6 separate regions of the Homo sapiens genome follow, and all the other regions are linked to region 1. Evidence: promoter capture Hi-C in 16 types of primary human blood cells and fetal thymus (Javierre and others, 2016). All regions are on one chromosome and are shown on one strand. The core of a region is centred on a gene start or on the middle of the fragment in contact, and the rest is flanking DNA. Distances in the headings are between cores, read along the strand shown. Region 1 holds the start of TAS2R9 (taste 2 receptor member 9). Region 2 has its middle 52 kb from the start of LINC01252. Region 3 overlaps LOC440084 (a long non-coding RNA gene). Region 4 overlaps LOC440084 (a long non-coding RNA gene). Region 5 has its middle 29 kb from the start of PRB2. Region 6 has its middle 33 kb from the start of PRB4.

Region 1 (2,796 bases), core at 161-2,660:
CAAGCACAGTGTGTATTTTTGAGTTGTATAATCTGATATTTCTTCAGAAACAAAATTCACAGAGAAGCATGAAAGAAACCCCAAATTTCACTGAATAGAATAACAATAGCTATTTACTTTCTCATAAAAATCTGCAAGATTAATTTTTATCTCTTTATTTTGTCTAAAACCCTGAACATATGACACATTATCTCATTAAATACTTTGTATTGTTGTGTTTGTTTGATAAGCAATATTTAATATTGCCTTAAAATTTAATATTAGTTTCAAAATAATATTTCTGGGAACTGTGTATTGCTGTGTGCCTTTTTCTATTATTTCAAATATGTTCTACTATGCCCAATGACATGTTTCAATATGTCCCAATGAAACAGTGTGTTTCCAATGTGTGTATAATTAGCATACTAATATTTATAATACACCTGCTGCCAAAAAATAGAGCTAAGAAAATTCAGAGCATGTATTCTTATCACTCAGTTCAGACTGAAGAGTCTTGTATATCTATCACGCTTTTTAGTTCCAAAAATATCACTTTCTTGCTCTTTGTCCTCCTCACTGTTCAGGCTGATCTGTTTCCATTCTAAAGATAAGTGACCAGTATTTTGACTATTTTTTCTATGTATGGAAGCTACATTCAGGTACAAAGCAAGAACACTCTAAGAAACCCTAACATCTAAACCAGAATTTTCCGTGTCTCATTTGCTGACAACACTACAATGTCATGTTTATTTCCCTCATTGTATCTTCAGTTGAGAAGACAAACACTGCAGAGCTTTTTGAGGATATTGGGAATTACCTAATTAATGTATTTCTCAATGCCCTAGTGAATGGAGTGTCCTTTTGGCCCTCTTAAGTCATATAATGGGGAGAAGGTGAAGTTCGCATATGATAAATTCACCTTAATACTCCTATCTTCCTACACCTTTAGATTCTTTCCTCTACATTCCACCAGTTATGCCATTTAAGCCTCATTTAATGTTAATAATAATTTGTTTAAAGCTTTAGTCAACCAAGCAAGCAAACTGGCCACACAAGCTAACACAGTAAACCTAGAATCTGTAATAGCAATAACTATGTCAATATACTAACAAGGATGGATAGTCATCCAGCAAATTAAATTCTAGCCATATTTTCCAAGTAATTGATACCTTCTTGAAGTTCCTGGTCAACAGCTCAGATTGATAAATCCAAAATATACAGAGCTTAAAATAAGAAAGAGTGTGCAAATTTAAGAAATCAGATCCATTCCCATTTGCATCCTAGAGGCTTTCAGTCATCACTGCACCAAAGGAAATTACTGGCCCCAATCATTGAAGTCTTTAGGCAGCTCTAGCCCAGAGCAGGACTGGCTATCTTCTTCATCTGCATCACAGCTAACAAAAAGGAGAGATAAAGACAACTATATCATGGTCTAAGAGGCAGACAGATACATTGTTCTTCACTGGTCAGCTGAAAGTCAATTCATCATCAGTGATATTCAAAAATCACAAGTCTTTGCTGGCATGCCAAGTGCAATAGAGGCAATATATATTATTTTAATTGCTGGTGAATTGACCATAGGGATTTGGGGAAATGGATTCATTGTACTAGTTAACTGCATTGACTGGCTCAAAAGAAGAGATATTTCCTTGATTGACATCATCCTGATCAGCTTGGCCATCTCCAGAATCTGTCTGCTGTGTGTAATATCATTAGATGGCTTCTTTATGCTGCTCTTTCCAGGTACATATGGCAATAGCGTGCTAGTAAGCATTGTGAATGTTGTCTGGACATTTGCCAATAATTCAAGTCTCTGGTTTACTTCTTGCCTCAGTATCTTCTATTTACTCAAGATAGCCAATATATCGCACCCATTTTTCTTCTGGCTGAAGCTAAAGATCAACAAGGTCATGCTTGCGATTCTTCTGGGGTCCTTTCTTATCTCTTTAATTATTAGTGTTCCAAAGAATGATGATATGTGGTATCACCTTTTCAAAGTCAGTCATGAAGAAAACATTACTTGGAAATTCAAAGTGAGTAAAATTCCAGGTACTTTCAAACAGTTAACCCTGAACCTGGGGGTGATGGTTCCCTTTATCCTTTGCCTGATCTCATTTTTCTTGTTACTTTTCTCCCTAGTTAGACACACCAAGCAGATTCGACTGCATGCTACAGGGTTCAGAGACCCCAGTACAGAGGCCCACATGAGGGCCATAAAGGCAGTGATCATCTTTCTGCTCCTCCTCATCGTGTACTACCCAGTCTTTCTTGTTATGACCTCTAGCGCTCTGATTCCTCAGGGAAAATTAGTGTTGATGATTGGTGACATAGTAACTGTCATTTTCCCATCAAGCCATTCATTCATTCTAATTATGGGAAATAGCAAGTTGAGGGAAGCTTTTCTGAAGATGTTAAGATTTGTGAAGTGTTTCCTTAGAAGAAGAAAGCCTTTTGTTCCATAGAGACCCCTAAAGAGTATCCTGACTACAAGGATGAAAGAAATCAACAAAAGGCATTCTCCCTTCTCTTGTTTGCATTCATTTTCTCTTATATGCTATTGGAAGTCATTAATATCTGTCATGATTCTGAAGATTTGTTTTGTGTTCCTTCACACTTTTGTCTTGTTTAATGGATAATCTAATGTTATCATTGCACCGTATATTCTTTGTCGTTGCAGAAAAAAAAAATGCATCTAAATCCCACACTAACATTTCATCATTTTATGTCATTGACTAAATACAAAGAGGTTCTACTTCTTTTCTGACAAATACTGGCAAAGGCCTTGAACTCAATGAGTAGAAGAATGTCAGGCAAACA
Region 2 (2,796 bases), core at 84-2,583, 690 kb before region 1:
CAAGGTCGAGAGATCAAGACCATCCTGGCTAATATGGTGAAACCCTGTCTCTACTAAAAATACAAAAAATTAGCTGGGCGTGGTAGCATGCACATGTATTCCCAGCTACTCGGGAGGCTGAGGCAGAATTGCTTGAAAGCTGGGAGGTGGAGGTTGCAGAGAGCCGAGATTGCACCACTGCACTCCAGCCTGGGTGACAGAGCAACGCTCCATCTTAAAAAAAAAAAGAAAAAAAAATTAAATAGAGAAGTCAGTCATGATGACGTGGGAGGATCACCAGAGGCCAGGAGTTCATGACCAGCCTGGGCAAAATAATGAGACCCCTGTCTCTTAAAAGGTTTTATTAAAAAAAATTAAATAGAGAAGCTAGACATGAAAGGACAGATATTGTGTGAGTCCACTTATGTGAGGTGCCTAGAACAGTCCAGTTCATAGCAGCAGAAGCAGTGGCCGCCAGGGATGGGGAAACAAGGTGGGAGTTGGGCAGCTTGTGTTTCATGGGTAGAGTTTCAGGTTGGGATGATGGCAAAGTCCTGGAAATGGCTGGTGGTGACGGCTGCACAGCAGTGTAAATGTGCGAATGCCACTGAGCTGTATGCTTAAAAATGGTTTTGATGGTAAATTTTAGGTTAGGTCTATTTTACCACAATAAAAAGCTAGGAAAAGCTGGTAGAAAGAAAGAAAAGAAAGGAAAAGAAGACAAAGAAGAAAAGAAAGAAAGAGAGAGGGAAAGAAAGAAAGAGAGAGGGAAAGAAAGAAGGAAAAGAAAGAAAGAAAGAAAAAGAAAAGAGAGAAAGGATGAAAAAATATTAATTTCTTTCTCAGGCAATAGTCCAGATTTTGTATTATGAAGCTTGTGTATCAGCTCTGCCCTATGAAGTCCTTGGGATACCAGGCTCCTTCCTCCTTTCTGCCCCACCATTCCTTGGATGTAGCCCTTGACCTTTTAATCGAGGTTGGAGGATGAGGAGAGAAAAGGAAGCAATGGCCTAGAAACTGCCATTGAGCACATGCCTACATCCCATTGGCCAGATGTCAGTCACATGACCACACCCACCTGCAAGAGATGCTGGGAATTGAAGTCTCATTTGTGGGTAGTCATGTATTTAGGCAAAATTTGAGGACTCCATCACCTTGGAAGAAGGAGAGAATAGATAGTGGGGACAACTTAGCCATCTCTGCTGTCATCCCCATTTGATCTCTCAATGGTCAGAAACCACAGAGGAGAAGGAGTGACTCCCAGAACATCCAACATTCAGCCTCCCCTTATTACTCTTCATTCTTTTTCATCCTTAAAGAATCCTTCTGGCCACTCCCACTAGGCATTGTCATCTCCCAAGAATTACAAACTATCCATGGATTCCTTCATCTTACAAACCTACCTGCTTCGTGGTAGGCACTGTATTAGGTAAGGGGACTAGAAAGATAGAGGAGGTGCAGTCTTTTCCCTAAGGAGTCTTCAGTCTAGCAGGCAGGAGTAGAAATGTGGACCAACTGTCCTGAAGTGTGACAGTTGTATAGATAGACATTTGAACAACATATGGTGGGGTATTAAAAAAAAACAGTTAACACTAAACTCAAAAACAGATAAGGGAGGGATAAGAAAATGCATCATAAAGGAAGTCTGCCGTAAACTAAGTGTTTAAAGTTTGGTTCATTGGATGGAGGGGACAGGACAGAGTCTCTGTCTTTCTCCCTCCTTTTTTGCTCCTTCCCCCATGCCTAATATGCTTTGTATAAAACCACCTGTATGCAAAACAGATCAATCCAGCTACTATCCTATTAAAAATATAGTGCATTGGCTATAAGCTTAAGTTACTAACTTGCATATTCATTTACATGGCAATTCCTGTAACCTTGCCTCTTAAGAAAACTAGACGAAATAAAATTAATTACCAAAGGCAGCCAGCAGCAAAAATATCCAAACCTTAATTCTAGGTACAAGCTACAGAACATGGCACAAAGTGGACTGTGGTGGGGGTCTGTAGATAAGGTGAAGCAATAGTTTTACATCAAAAAATTATTGGGTTCTATACAAGTGCAATCATAAATGAGGCATTGGAATTTGGCTTCACATTGACTAAACTGTTGAGCCATGGTTCACTCATTAACATTCTGTGTTAATGATATTCTAGTTATCATTAAAAAAGTAAAGGTGAAACTGAGAAACTATAAGCAATAAAACTTGGTGTTTAGGAGAAAATAATTTATCATCCATAATATATAATTTTGAAAGATTAAAAACACATTCATCTCAATACAAAAATTCAATAATGCTTGAATTACTTCCAACGTGTTCATCCAAGGTGAACCTTCACATTTTTACAAACTCTTTTTCTTTATGAATTTTTGTTGACTAAGAACAAATTTTTTTCATTTTCTGAACTTCAAAATTATGCATTTTTCTATATGCTATACACATGAAACTTATGCTTCCTATGTATTAATTTTACAATTTTAAATTCCTTGGAAGATATCTTGTTTTTAAGTATTAAATTCAACTTTATTAGCATGTGTTCATTATCTAATAAAACAAAATGAACCATAGAAAGCAGGGATCCCCAGACTTTTTAAATAAAGAGTCAGGGAGCAGACATTTTAGACTTTGCTGACCACATACAGTCTATGTCACATATTTATCTTTGTTTTTTTTCTTTTAACAACCTTAAAAATGTAAAGACAATTCTTAGCTATGGGCCAAACAGGTCTTAATTTGACCCGTGGGCCTTACTTTGCAAACCTCTGAAAAGCCTTGATATCAGAAACCTATATGCCTATAAATAACTATAATACAAG
Region 3 (2,796 bases), core at 137-2,636, 660 kb before region 1:
AGGGGCAAGAGGCCTCACGCAATTCTGAAACCCAGCAGGACAGACATTAAATCTTAAAGGTACAGAATGCTCTCACTTGACTCCATGTCTCACATCCTGGGCACAATGGTAGAAGGGGTGGGCTCCCAAGGCCTTGGGCATCACTGTCCCCATGGCTTTGTTGAGCATAGCCCCTGTGGCTGCTCCCAGGGGTTGGGATGTGGTGCCCATGGTTTTTCTAGACTGAAGGTGCATGCTGTTGGTGGTGCTACCATTCTGGGATATGAATGGCAGTGGCCCTGCTCCCAGGGCTCCACCAATCAGTGCCCCAGTAAGGATGCTTTGCTGGGGCTCCAACCCCACATTTCCCCCTAGGCACTTCCCTAATAAAGGCTTTTTGCAGATAGGCTTCTGCCTGGGCACTCAGGCTTTCCAATACATCCTTTGAAATCTAGGTGGAAGCTGCCAAGCCTCCATGGCTTTTGCCTCTGTGTGCCTGCAGACTTACCACCATGTTGAAGCTGCCAAGGCTTATGGCTTGTGCCCTCTGGAGCAGCAGCCCAAGCAGTCCCTGGGACTCTTTGAGCTGGGGATGGAGGCAGAGCAGCAGGAAAGCAGCATCCAACAGGGCAGTGGCACCCTAGGCAGTTCCCCTGAAGCCATTCTGTCTTAGGACATTGGGCCTGTGATGGAGGGGTGGCCTTGAAGATTTCTGAAATGTCAGGGTCTTTTTCTCATTGTCTTGACCATCAGCATCTGGCTCCCTTTTATTATTGCCAATCTCTCTAGCAAGTGGTGACTCCAAGCCTCCTTGGATTCCTCTCTTTGAAAATGGTCTTTCCTTCTCTACCACACCTCTGCCACACCTTGTCTACCACACAGTGGGCTGTGAATTTGCCAAATTTTTATGTTCTGATTTCCTATTCATTATCAGTTCCAACTTTAGGTAATTTTTTTGCTCCCAAAACCGACCCTAGGTTGTTAGAAGCAGACATGACTCTTCTCGAATGTTTTGCTGCTTAGAAATTTCTTCTGCCAGATACCCTAAGTCATCAATCTAAAATTCAGCCTACCGCAAAGTCCTAGGACATGGACACAGTGCAGCCAATTTCTTTGCTAGGGCATAACAAGGGTGACATTTACTTTAGTTCCCTATAAGTTTCTCATTTTCATCTGAGACTTCATCAATATAGCCTTCATTGTCCCTAGTTCTATCAGCATTTTGATCACAACCATTTAACCAGTCTCTGAGAAGTTCCAAGCTTTCTCTCTTCTTCCTGTCTTCTTCAGAGTCCTCCAAACTCTTCCAACTTCTGCCCATTACCCTGTTTTCAAAACTGCTTCCACATTTTCAAGTTTCTTTATAGTAACACCCCATTTCTTGGTACCAATTTTCTGTTGTAGTTCATTTTGCACTGCTATAAATAAATATGTGAGGCTGGGTGATTTTTAAAAGAAAAAGGTTAATTTGGCTCACAATTCGACAGCCTGTACCAGAGGCATGGCACCAGCATCTACTTTCTACTTCTTGTAAGGGCCTCAGGAAGCTTACAATCATGGCAGAAGGTAAAAGGGCTGCAGGCATCATATGGCAAGACAGAGAGCAAGCAAGAGAAAGGAGGGAGATGCCAGGCTCATTTTAAAAATCAGATCTTGTGAAAACAAATAGAGAACTCACTCATTACCCTGGAGACTACTGTATTAGTCTGTTCTCATGCTGCTGATAAAGACATATCCATGACTGGGCAATTTACAAAATAAAGAGGTTTAATGGACACACAGTTCCACGTGGCTTGGGAGGGCTCACAATCATGGTGGAAGGTGAAAGGCACATCTCACATGGCTGCAGACAAGAGAAGAGAACCTGTGCAGGGAAATTCTCCTTTATAAAACGATCAGATTTCGTGAGACTTATTCACCATGATGAGAATAGCATGGGAAAGACCCGCCCACATGGTTCAGTTATCTCCTACCGGGCCCCTCCCACAACATGTGGGAATTATAGGAGCTACAATTCAAGATGAGATTTGGGTGGGGACACAGTCAAACCGTATCAACTACGCCAAGCCATTCATGAGAGATCCACCTACATGACCAAACACTTCCAACAATGGGGATCAAATTTCAACATGAGATCTGGAGAGGACAAATGTCCAAATTATACCAATGGAGGAAAGGACAATTCCTTCAACAAATGGTGTTGGGAAAAGTGGATACTCAAATGCAAAATTATGAAGTTAGACACTTACCTTACACCATATACAAAAACCAACAAAATGGATTAAATATCTAAACACAAGACCTAAAGCTATTACACTCCTAGAAAAAAGGAGAGGAAAAAATGTTTATGACAATGGATTTGGTAATGATTTACTGGATATGACTCCAAAAGCACAGGCAACAAAAGCAAAAGTAGGCAAATAGTATGACAGGAAAGTTTAAGGTTAACTTCTGCTTGTTAACATAATTAACAGAATGAAAAGGCAATCTATGGATGGGAGAAAATATTTGAAAATGACATATTTGATAATGCATTTTAAATATATATAAATATGTATTTAACATGTATATATACACATATACAAAAATTATAATTAAAAATGTATTTATGGAACTTCTACAACTCAACAACAAAATGACCTGATTCAAAAGTGGGCAAATAACTTGAATAGAGAATTCTCCAAAGAAGATATACAAATGGTCAACCAGCATATGGAAAGGTGCTTAATATTACTAATCATAAGATAAATGCATGTCAAAACTACAATGAGATTTTACTTCATGTCCCTTAGGATGGCTACTATCAAGAGAAGAGAA
Region 4 (2,796 bases), core at 92-2,591, 630 kb before region 1:
CTTTGATGCAATTCTGTTAAGCTTCAATGTCTGTTTTTAAAACATGTGAGTTAATTTGGTTCAATGATTATGGCCAAGGCATCTGGTTGGATAACATAATGTCATGAAGTTGTATGGCTTTGGCCCCTGCCCTTAAAACTTTTAGTATATTTGAGGCAGAGACATAAGAAAGGGATTAATTCCAAACTAGCAGAGTCATTATTCTTAACACCAGAAGATGGGTAGAGATAAGCCTGAATAGAGAAAAAAAATGGGGCTCTACTCCAAGCCATGCTGCCTGTATTTATTCCTGCCTCTACCTCTTACTTGCTCTGTAACTGGGCAAGTGACCTAATTTCCTTGCGCCTCAGTTTCTTCATTAGTAAATTGATGCTGTTATAATACTTTATATGCTGTTTAGGATTATTGTGAGGGTTAAAATGAGTACATATTTGTAAAGTACTCAGAATTTGTAAAATATTTACAATAGTGCCTGGGACATAGTAATTGCCATTTAGTCATTATTACTTGTTATAACTGCTAAAAATGTTTTTATTGTAGTAAAAAATCCATACCCTTAAATTTACCACTTAACTTCTTTTAAGTGTATAGTTCAGTTGTGTTAAGTATATTCACATTGTTGTGCAACAAATAGAGATCTCTAGAAATTTTTCATCTTGCAAAACTAAAAGTCTACACCCATTGAACAATAATGTCTCCTTCCCCCAGCCCTTGACACCCACCTTTCTACTTTCCATTTTTGTGAGTTTGACTACTTTAGATACCTCACATAAGTGGACTCATGCAGTCTTGGTCTTTTTGTGACTGGCTTCTTCCATCTAGCATAATGTTCTCAAAGTTTATCCATGTAACCATGTTTGTTCATCTGTATGACCTTGTTCATAGCATAGGAAAGGATTCATTCCTTTTTAAAGGCTGAATAATATTCCGTCATATGTGTGTACCACATTTTTAACTTCATTCATCCATAGATGAACATCCGAGTTGCTCTACCTCTTGGCTATTGTGAATAATGCTGCAATAAACAAAGATATGTAAGGATCTTTTCAACATCCTGATTTCTTCTTGGTGCAGTGGCTCATACCTGTAATCCCAGCACTTTGGGAGTCCAAGGCAGGTGGATCACTTGAGACCAGGAGTTTGAGAGCAGCCTGGCCAACATAGTGAAACCCCACCTCAACTAAAAATACAAAAACTAGCCAGGCATTGCGGCAAACACTTGTAATCCCAACTACTCAGGAGGCTGAGGTGTGAGAATCGCTTGAACCAGGGAGGCAGAGGCTGCAGTGAGCCTAGATCGCACCACTGCACTCCAGCCTGGATGACAGAGTGAGACCCTGTTTCAAAAAAACAATCCTGATTTTGAATATTTGTCCAGAAGAGGGATTGATGGATTATTTGGTAACTCTATGTTTAATTTTTCAAGAAACCTCTATATTGTTTTCCATAAAGGCTGCTCCAGTTTACATTCCCAAAGCTGTGTACAGGGACTCTAATTTCTCCACATCCTTGCTAACACTTGTTATTTTCTGTTGTTTTGATAGTGGCCATCCCAATAGGTGTGAGGTGATATCTCATTGTTATAATTTTTGCATTTCTTATCTATCAGCTGATCAAAATCCTGCTCCCCCTGCTGTCCCTCCACCATGGTTTAAAAGAGTCTAACCTAGAGCTTAAAATATCTAAGAGACAAAGACGGGAATCAGTCTCAGAATTGCCCATGAGGATGTGTGCTAAGTCCAAGAGAACACATTGGTCCTAAAACTTCAATTAAATCCACTGAAATCTCTTCATGGTGTACCACAGTGTGTTTTCTTCCTTGTTCATTGACTACCAGGCAAGGCTTTCGGCCAAATCTGAAGAGTTATAATTCTTTTTGTCCTCCCCTCCTTCCTCTTTTCTTTTTATTTTTAGGATAGTGGTTTAAACTCTGAGAATTCATTTCCTAAAAGAGCTAAAATCCTAGAAAGCCAACTTTTTTGAGCATATGTCATGGTGAGGGCACTTTGCCCCACATCTAATCAGTCACCAAGTCCCTTTAATTTCACCTTCATAATGTCTTTAATATCTGTATACTTTTCAGGCCTAGGGCTACCATGCTGCTGAACCCATGGTGGCTCTTGCCTGTGCAGTGCCATTACTGACCTGCTCTCTGTTTGTGCAGGTTTGGCTAGTCTTCCTAAAGCATGGCTTTTACCATGCCAACCATTGACTTCACATTCTCAATGACTCTGTTTTGCCAGCAGAATAATGACTCAACTCTTCAGCTTTTGAAGATCTCCTTGGTATGCTCCCCAGTGTCATTTCAGACGGCCACAACCTCCTCTTCCACTGCCCTCTTTTTGTCACCCTCTCATTGTAGTCTCCAGTCACATACTTTTCTTTAATGAGGGTAATTACTCGGATAGTTTTACTTTATTCTTTAAGGTCCATCTCAAGTTATAATAATGAAGGTGCCAATCATTGATCATTTATTATATGTCATTTACCAATTTACATGGATCAGTTCATTTAATTCTCACAATGACCCTATGAAGGGATTAGTATCATCACCTGCGTTTTGCAAATCAGGAAAACTGGACAGAGTGATTTGGGCAAGTTCAAGGTCTCCCAAGGACCTGGGTTCATGGCCAGACAATCTGAGTCTAGAACCCAAGCTTTTAGCCACTGCTGAAAGGTTGCATTTGACAGTGTCTTCTCACCTAGAATTCAGTACAGATGAATAATCATTTATTTGGCACCAGGGCTCTATAATAGACTTTGTAGAAATAAGGCAACCAAATTTATTACAGTTCA
Region 5 (2,796 bases), core at 188-2,687, 610 kb before region 1:
GCGCAGTAGAAGATAAAGTTAAGGAACTCTCCCATAAGATAGAATGAAAAGAGATGATCCATGGGTGAGAAAAAAAAATTCAACCAACATTAGACAAAGAAAACAGAGACTATATGGGAAAGAAATAGTCAATGAAACACTAGATTTCCCAGAACTTAAGGTGTATTCTCCATATTGAAAGGGCCCAATGTTGATCCGCAGGCCCACACTTAACCATTTGCAGTGCCCAGTGCAGGAATACAAATGGAGCCCCACCTACTTTATAGCCCCTACTCTATAAGTTATAAAGTGTCTAGACCCTAGATTCATGTCAGGTTCCACATAAGTCCTGCAGTCTGTCTCTTGGAAACTGCCTTTCTCAACTAGCCAGGAGGCTAAAGGAACATGTGTTTCCCTGCATTAACCCTGACTGCAAGCTGGGAGGTGGGAGGATGGAGAGGGGTAGGGCTGTCTGCTGGAGCAGCAGGGTGGAAGCTGGGTGGGGGCCAAGCATTGACCTGGCCAAGCTTTTGTGGGAGCCTGCTAGGCAAGCGATGCTCTCTGCCCTGCCTCACTTCTGATTTGGGTTTCCCAGGAGGTTCTAAGCAGCTCCCCAAATGATATTACTGACCACAGGAGTAGTAGAGAGTGCATTTATGGAGGGAGAGTGGGTGAACCTGTCTGCCCAGATGTGCTCTTTGGTCTTTTTAAGCTGAAAAACATTAAGCAAAAGCATTCATTTTTTTCTCTGGTGTCCCAGAGCAGAAGCTGTGAATTTATTCTCATTGTACCTTCTCAATTCTGCATCCTCAGGACTTGAGGACCACAGTTCTGCCTGTGCCCCTCTCCCACAATTCCTGTTTTTTATTTATTTGCTGGACTTTTAAAATATTTTCCAAGGAGAGTGAAAGGAATTAAACCATGCGTTTGGTTTTGGGGTGTGTGGAGACCAATCTAAAATGTAGGGCCCAGCACAGCCCCTGCAACACCCGGAATAGAATACTGAGTGCCCAGCACAATAAATGGAAAGAGATCCATATCAACTTAAATCTAATTAAATTTTAGGGATAAAAGGATGATCCTCAAGATTCCAGTGGAGGAAAAAAACAGTTTTACACTAAGGATTGAGAATTAGAGTGAAAATGGAAGGGTAAAAGTTAGAAGATGGTGTCAGAAAGATTCTGAGCAAAAGTCATTTTCAACCTAGTGTCCTATATTTGGCCAGATTATCAGTCAAGTGTGAGGCCAGACTAAGCACATTCTTAGACATGAATGATCTTGAAATGTTTCCCCTCTCATGTGGCTCATTTGCAACAAGCTATGGAAGAATGGGTTTCACCAAAGAAGAAGGCTGAGAAAGAGGGAGGCATTAACTCAGGATATGCATCACCCTATTTGAGAGAAGAAAATAAAATTTCCAGGACAAAGGCAAATTATCTGAGAAGTGTCAGTGAGGAAAATTGTATGAAGAGGGATTTTACAAGTCCGTTGGAAGTGTCAGGAAGACTTAGATGTTTAAAGAAAACCAAATAAGTGAGAAAAAGGAGGTAATTATTAACTCCAGGAAAAACAAAAGGTTTTGTAAGGAAGGAAATATAAGCGTAATTAATAGGTACAGGGTAGTGATGATATTGGTGAACAAAAGGCAAATAATATTTCCTCATTCTAAAAATGAAATCACAACCAAAAAGTCATCAGTACTTGAAACTGACACCTCACTTCCTAGCAGGGCCTACTAGAAGGAAGCCAATGCATCCCTATCATTCACCCCACTGTGTCCACATTAGACACAATTTGGGCAGAGTGAAATTGTTATAGAGATCAAGTGGGGACTGAGAGATTGAGGGTGGGAAACTTTTCCTTCTCATCCCCTCTAGGTGCTTGCTTCACTGTGAAGTCAAATGAAGGAGACGCCTAGAGATTCACTTGGAAAGGATGGCCTCTCCATAAAGCTATTGGACATGGCTGCTGGTCTTTCCCAAAGTAAAAGATGTGAGAAAGGGAAAGAGAGAAAGAGAGAGATCAAGACAGTGAGACAAAGAGACAGACAGAGTGAAGTTGCCAAAAAAAAAAAAAAAATGAAGCCACAGTTTCTTTTATAACATGATCTCAGGGGTATTAATATATACTAACACTTTCCTCATATTCTATGGGTCACACAGACCAATCCTGATATATTAAGGTGGGAACCACACAAGCATGTGAATATCAGGAGGAAGGAATCTTGGGTATCAGCTGTCTCCTAATGACAACAATTTTGATACAAAAATAAGCAAGTTAAGGGGATTGAGGATTTTTGTGTATTCAAAGAAGGCTTCAAAATGGTGACATTTGAACAGATTTGAATAAAGGGACAAAACATGCTTGATAAAGATATAAGCAAGCTTGGTATATTGGCATAGTGTTAAGAGGCCAGTGTGGCTAAATTAGTGAAGTAAATTAGTTATAGAGAAGTCAATAAGTTCAAAGATAGGAGATAGGCAGGGGACCAATTATGCAGAACCTTGGCTTTAGAAACAGATTTGGATTTCATTATTATGAAAATGATGGAAGTGGTGAGTACAAAAGCCCCTATAGAGTGTGTGGAAGAGAAAATGGGAGGTGAGAACATGGCGAACAATAACTATAACATTCTTTTCAAAGATTTTTGCAATAAAGATGTCAGACAAATTGTGTGGTAAATGGAGAGGCATTAAATATGTAGAGAGAGCTTTGTAAAAATGGGAGATATTACAGCACATTTGTCATAAAGAAGAACAAATTGAAGATGCAGGGAGAAATGGAACATAATTACGGAAGCAAAATCCTTGATTAGGT
Region 6 (2,796 bases), core at 217-2,716, 530 kb before region 1:
TGCTTCAAGATCTTCATCCCCCTTATTTAAAATTTCATGGAAAGGTCTGCTCCTGTCTGTAGCTTATATTTTTGCTATAGTTTTGGCATCCATTGAGTGAAAAATTTACTCAACATTAATTACTCAATTCGAATCAGGTAAGGGGAACCAATTGAGAATTTTGTAGTGTTGGCTCTTGTTTGTACCGAGAATTATTGGTACAAAAATTCATCTTGTACCAATTTTATCCATGCAATTTGATATGAATCCTCTGTGTCTATGGGCTTTAGGTTCAACCTTGTCTTATCCCTTCTTGAAATGAGTTACCTACTTGTGAACTGCCAATTTTTAGGGCCATTATCCCTACCAGTGTTTCAGAAAGCATCATTGATTTCACCTTCTTGTACCCAAGCTTCACCATGAAGTTCACGTTTATACTCTTTTTAATTTTAGAAGAATTCATGATGCTCTCATAGGGGAACTTTTGAACTTGCTCTTATTTTTCTTGATGACTCAAGTAGCTCCTGTTCAGACATGTTAGAGCATGTCAATATGAGTTTATTTTGGTGCAAAAATTGGAATCTATTCTTTTTTAAATATAACATACTTTTTCCATGAACATTTTACAGTCCCAATGCATTACAGAAAGGCTTTCTAATACAATAAAATTTGCTACACATAAATTTGATTTTTCCAGGTGACTCGGTACATTGATTTTTTGTTTTTTTCCTGGCATATACAGGGTGAGGAATTCTTTTTGTTTGGATTTCTTGTGAGATATGAATAAAAATGTTGGTCACTTTAAATGGTATCCACAGTTTAGCCAATGTCTCCTGAGAAAAGTGTGTGTAAGCATGCATAAAAAGCACTTCATGATCCTGATTGCCAGTGATTTTTTCATTTATAAAAAAGAAGAAAGTGGCTGGGGGTGGTGGCTCATGCCTGTAATCCCAGCACTTTGGGAGGCTAAGGCGGGTGTATCACGAGGTCAGGAGTTCAAGATCAGCTAGGCCAAGATGGTGAAACCTGTCTCTGCTAAAACTAAAAAAATGAGCCAGGCCTAGTGACAGGTGCCTGTAATCCAAGCTACTTAGGAGGCTGAGGCAAGAGAATCGCTTGAAACCAGGTGGCAGAAGTTGCAGTGAACAGAGACTGTGCCACTGCACTGCAGCCTGGGTGACAGAGGGAGACTTCAGAAAAAAAAAAAAAAAAAAGAAGAAGAAGAAATTAATCATGTGCATGACTAAATACACAAAGATGAAGAAAAGGGGAATGTAGAAGCCTGTGTAATGTGCTTATGATTTAGAAACAACTTTAAGAAAATAGTTTTGTTTGTTTTTTTTTTTCACTTCACCTGGTCATGTCTTAAGAAAAGCTTTACTTCAAGCAGGTCCTAAAACCAGTACCTGAGTTTCTTGTCTGGATCTAATTTCTTCTCACTTTCTTGAAAATAAACAAATATGTTCATAAATGCAAAGAGCAGTGGAGCAAAGGAGGCAAGAACTGAGGCTCTGGAGACTACCGCCATCTACACCACTTACTAACTTTATAACTATCTTGGCATGTGCTTCCATCATCTCATCTATAAAATGAAGCTTGTAATAAAAATTATTACTACCTGAAAAGATGGTTCTGAAGATTATATGGCACATAGTCAATGCTTGGTAAATATTTCCTATTATAGTCTATCATGTTACAATAGGCTTGTAGAATATGAATGTGCTAATATAATTGTGAAAGTTATGTTTATGAAGACTCTACTGTAAGTCAGCATATGAGAACCACTATCATAATAGGGTAGCCAGAATTTTTAGAAAAACCTAAGCAAAGTACACTTCTCAGAGACAATTGTGTTGAATTGTTAACTGTATCATCATAATGCTTAGTTGATTAAATGGGCACACAGAGGAACTCCCCTCAGACCACAGGGACTAAATGCAATTCACTCACTATCAGCACAACTCTGTCCATGTTCAACTTCTGGGCAAACCACTCTTTAGTTGTTCTAGACAAACCAGCGCATTGTAAAGTTGAAGAAAATTCTTCTTTCAGTTCCATGCATAGAGCTTCCCAGTCTTTGAGAATGACACGTGAGTACGAAGAAACTTAGGTGTGAACTTTACAAGATCTTACTAAAAGGAAAATCAGGAAAACTTAGAGGATATGAAGGAAGAAGGTAATATTTAATATTTATTATTAAAAGATCACACTGGCTATTGTGAGGAGAAGTGATATGGAATGTGGTGGGAGCAGGAAGGTTACAAGGGCAGCTAGGGGCTGTTCTAGTCCTCCAGGAGAGAGGGTCATGCCCCCACTAGAGCCTTATATTAGAGATTATGGAAAGGGTCATCTTGGGATGTGTTTTATAGTGGAGCCCACTGTATTTGCTTATATGCAGTGCTTGGTGTGGAGTGAAAAGTAAAAAGTGACTCCTATGTTCTTGAGAACTCTGTAAAAAATGTTATTGTTTTAGTAAAGATTAGGAGGTATCATGGGCTGCATTGTTTTTACCCAAATTTGTATGTTGAAATCCTATCCCTGTACCTCAGAATATGATTGTGTTTGGAAAGAATTTCTTTTTATAGAGGTACCTAAATGAAAATTAGGCTATTAAGATGGTCCCAATCTAATCAGACTCCTGTTGTTATAAGAAAGGAACTTTTGGTCACATGGAGGGACACCAGGGGTGCATGTGTACAGAGAAACCCATGTGTGAAGACAAAACAAAAAAATAGCCAAGTCAAAGGGAAGAAGAGACATCTTAGAAGAACTGAACCTGTTAACACCTTGATCATGGGCTGTGAGTCCCCAGAACTG

What was found. The method cuts DNA at HindIII sites, captures the fragments that hold promoters and counts their contacts. A CHiCAGO score of 5 or more calls a contact.
Region 2: a contact is called between a fragment that was not itself captured here and the fragment with the promoter of TAS2R9 in region 1, in 13 of 17 cell types (endothelial precursors, M1 macrophages, M0 macrophages and 10 more). The highest score is 13.6, in endothelial precursors.
Region 3: a fragment that was not itself captured here is called in contact with the fragment with the promoter of TAS2R9 in region 1 in 14 of 17 cell types (M1 macrophages, naive CD8 T cells, total CD8 T cells and 11 more); the score reaches 12.8 in M1 macrophages.
Region 4: a contact is called between a fragment that was not itself captured here and the fragment with the promoter of TAS2R9 in region 1, in 14 of 17 cell types (M1 macrophages, non-activated CD4 T cells, total CD4 T cells and 11 more). The highest score is 11.3, in M1 macrophages.
Region 5: a fragment that was not itself captured here is called in contact with the fragment with the promoter of TAS2R9 in region 1 in 5 of 17 cell types (activated CD4 T cells, erythroblasts, M0 macrophages and 2 more); the score reaches 6.5 in activated CD4 T cells.
Region 6: a contact is called between a fragment that was not itself captured here and the fragment with the promoter of TAS2R9 in region 1, in 4 of 17 cell types (activated CD4 T cells, total B cells, M0 macrophages and 1 more). The highest score is 6.0, in activated CD4 T cells.

The regions. Positions count from the first base shown.
Region 1 is chr12:10,808,782-10,811,577 of GRCh38, reverse strand. It overlaps TAS2R9 (taste 2 receptor member 9), which reads left to right and starts at 1,410. Exons shown (of 1, transcript NM_023917.2): 1 at 1,410-2,484. The coding sequence starts at 1,503. The coding sequence ends at 2,441. The HindIII fragment of the contact is 1,377 bases long and covers 1,002-2,378 here.
Region 2 is chr12:11,494,597-11,497,392 of GRCh38, reverse strand. No RefSeq gene overlaps it. Among named protein-coding and RNA genes, the nearest start is that of LINC01252, 52 kb to the left of the region's middle. The HindIII fragment of the contact is 956 bases long and covers 856-1,811 here.
Region 3 is chr12:11,472,515-11,475,310 of GRCh38, reverse strand. All of the region lies in intron 2 of LOC440084 (a long non-coding RNA gene), which reads left to right. Among named protein-coding and RNA genes, the nearest start is that of LINC01252, 74 kb to the left of the region's middle. The HindIII fragment of the contact is 285 bases long and covers 1,244-1,528 here.
Region 4 is chr12:11,439,412-11,442,207 of GRCh38, reverse strand. All of the region lies in intron 2 of LOC440084 (a long non-coding RNA gene), which reads left to right. Among named protein-coding and RNA genes, the nearest start is that of PRB2, 45 kb to the right of the region's middle. The HindIII fragment of the contact is 2,636 bases long and covers 24-2,659 here.
Region 5 is chr12:11,422,854-11,425,649 of GRCh38, reverse strand. No RefSeq gene overlaps it. Among named protein-coding and RNA genes, the nearest start is that of PRB2, 29 kb to the right of the region's middle. The HindIII fragment of the contact is 1,857 bases long and covers 509-2,365 here.
Region 6 is chr12:11,341,776-11,344,571 of GRCh38, reverse strand. No RefSeq gene overlaps it. Among named protein-coding and RNA genes, the nearest start is that of PRB4, 33 kb to the right of the region's middle. The HindIII fragment of the contact is 220 bases long and covers 1,357-1,576 here.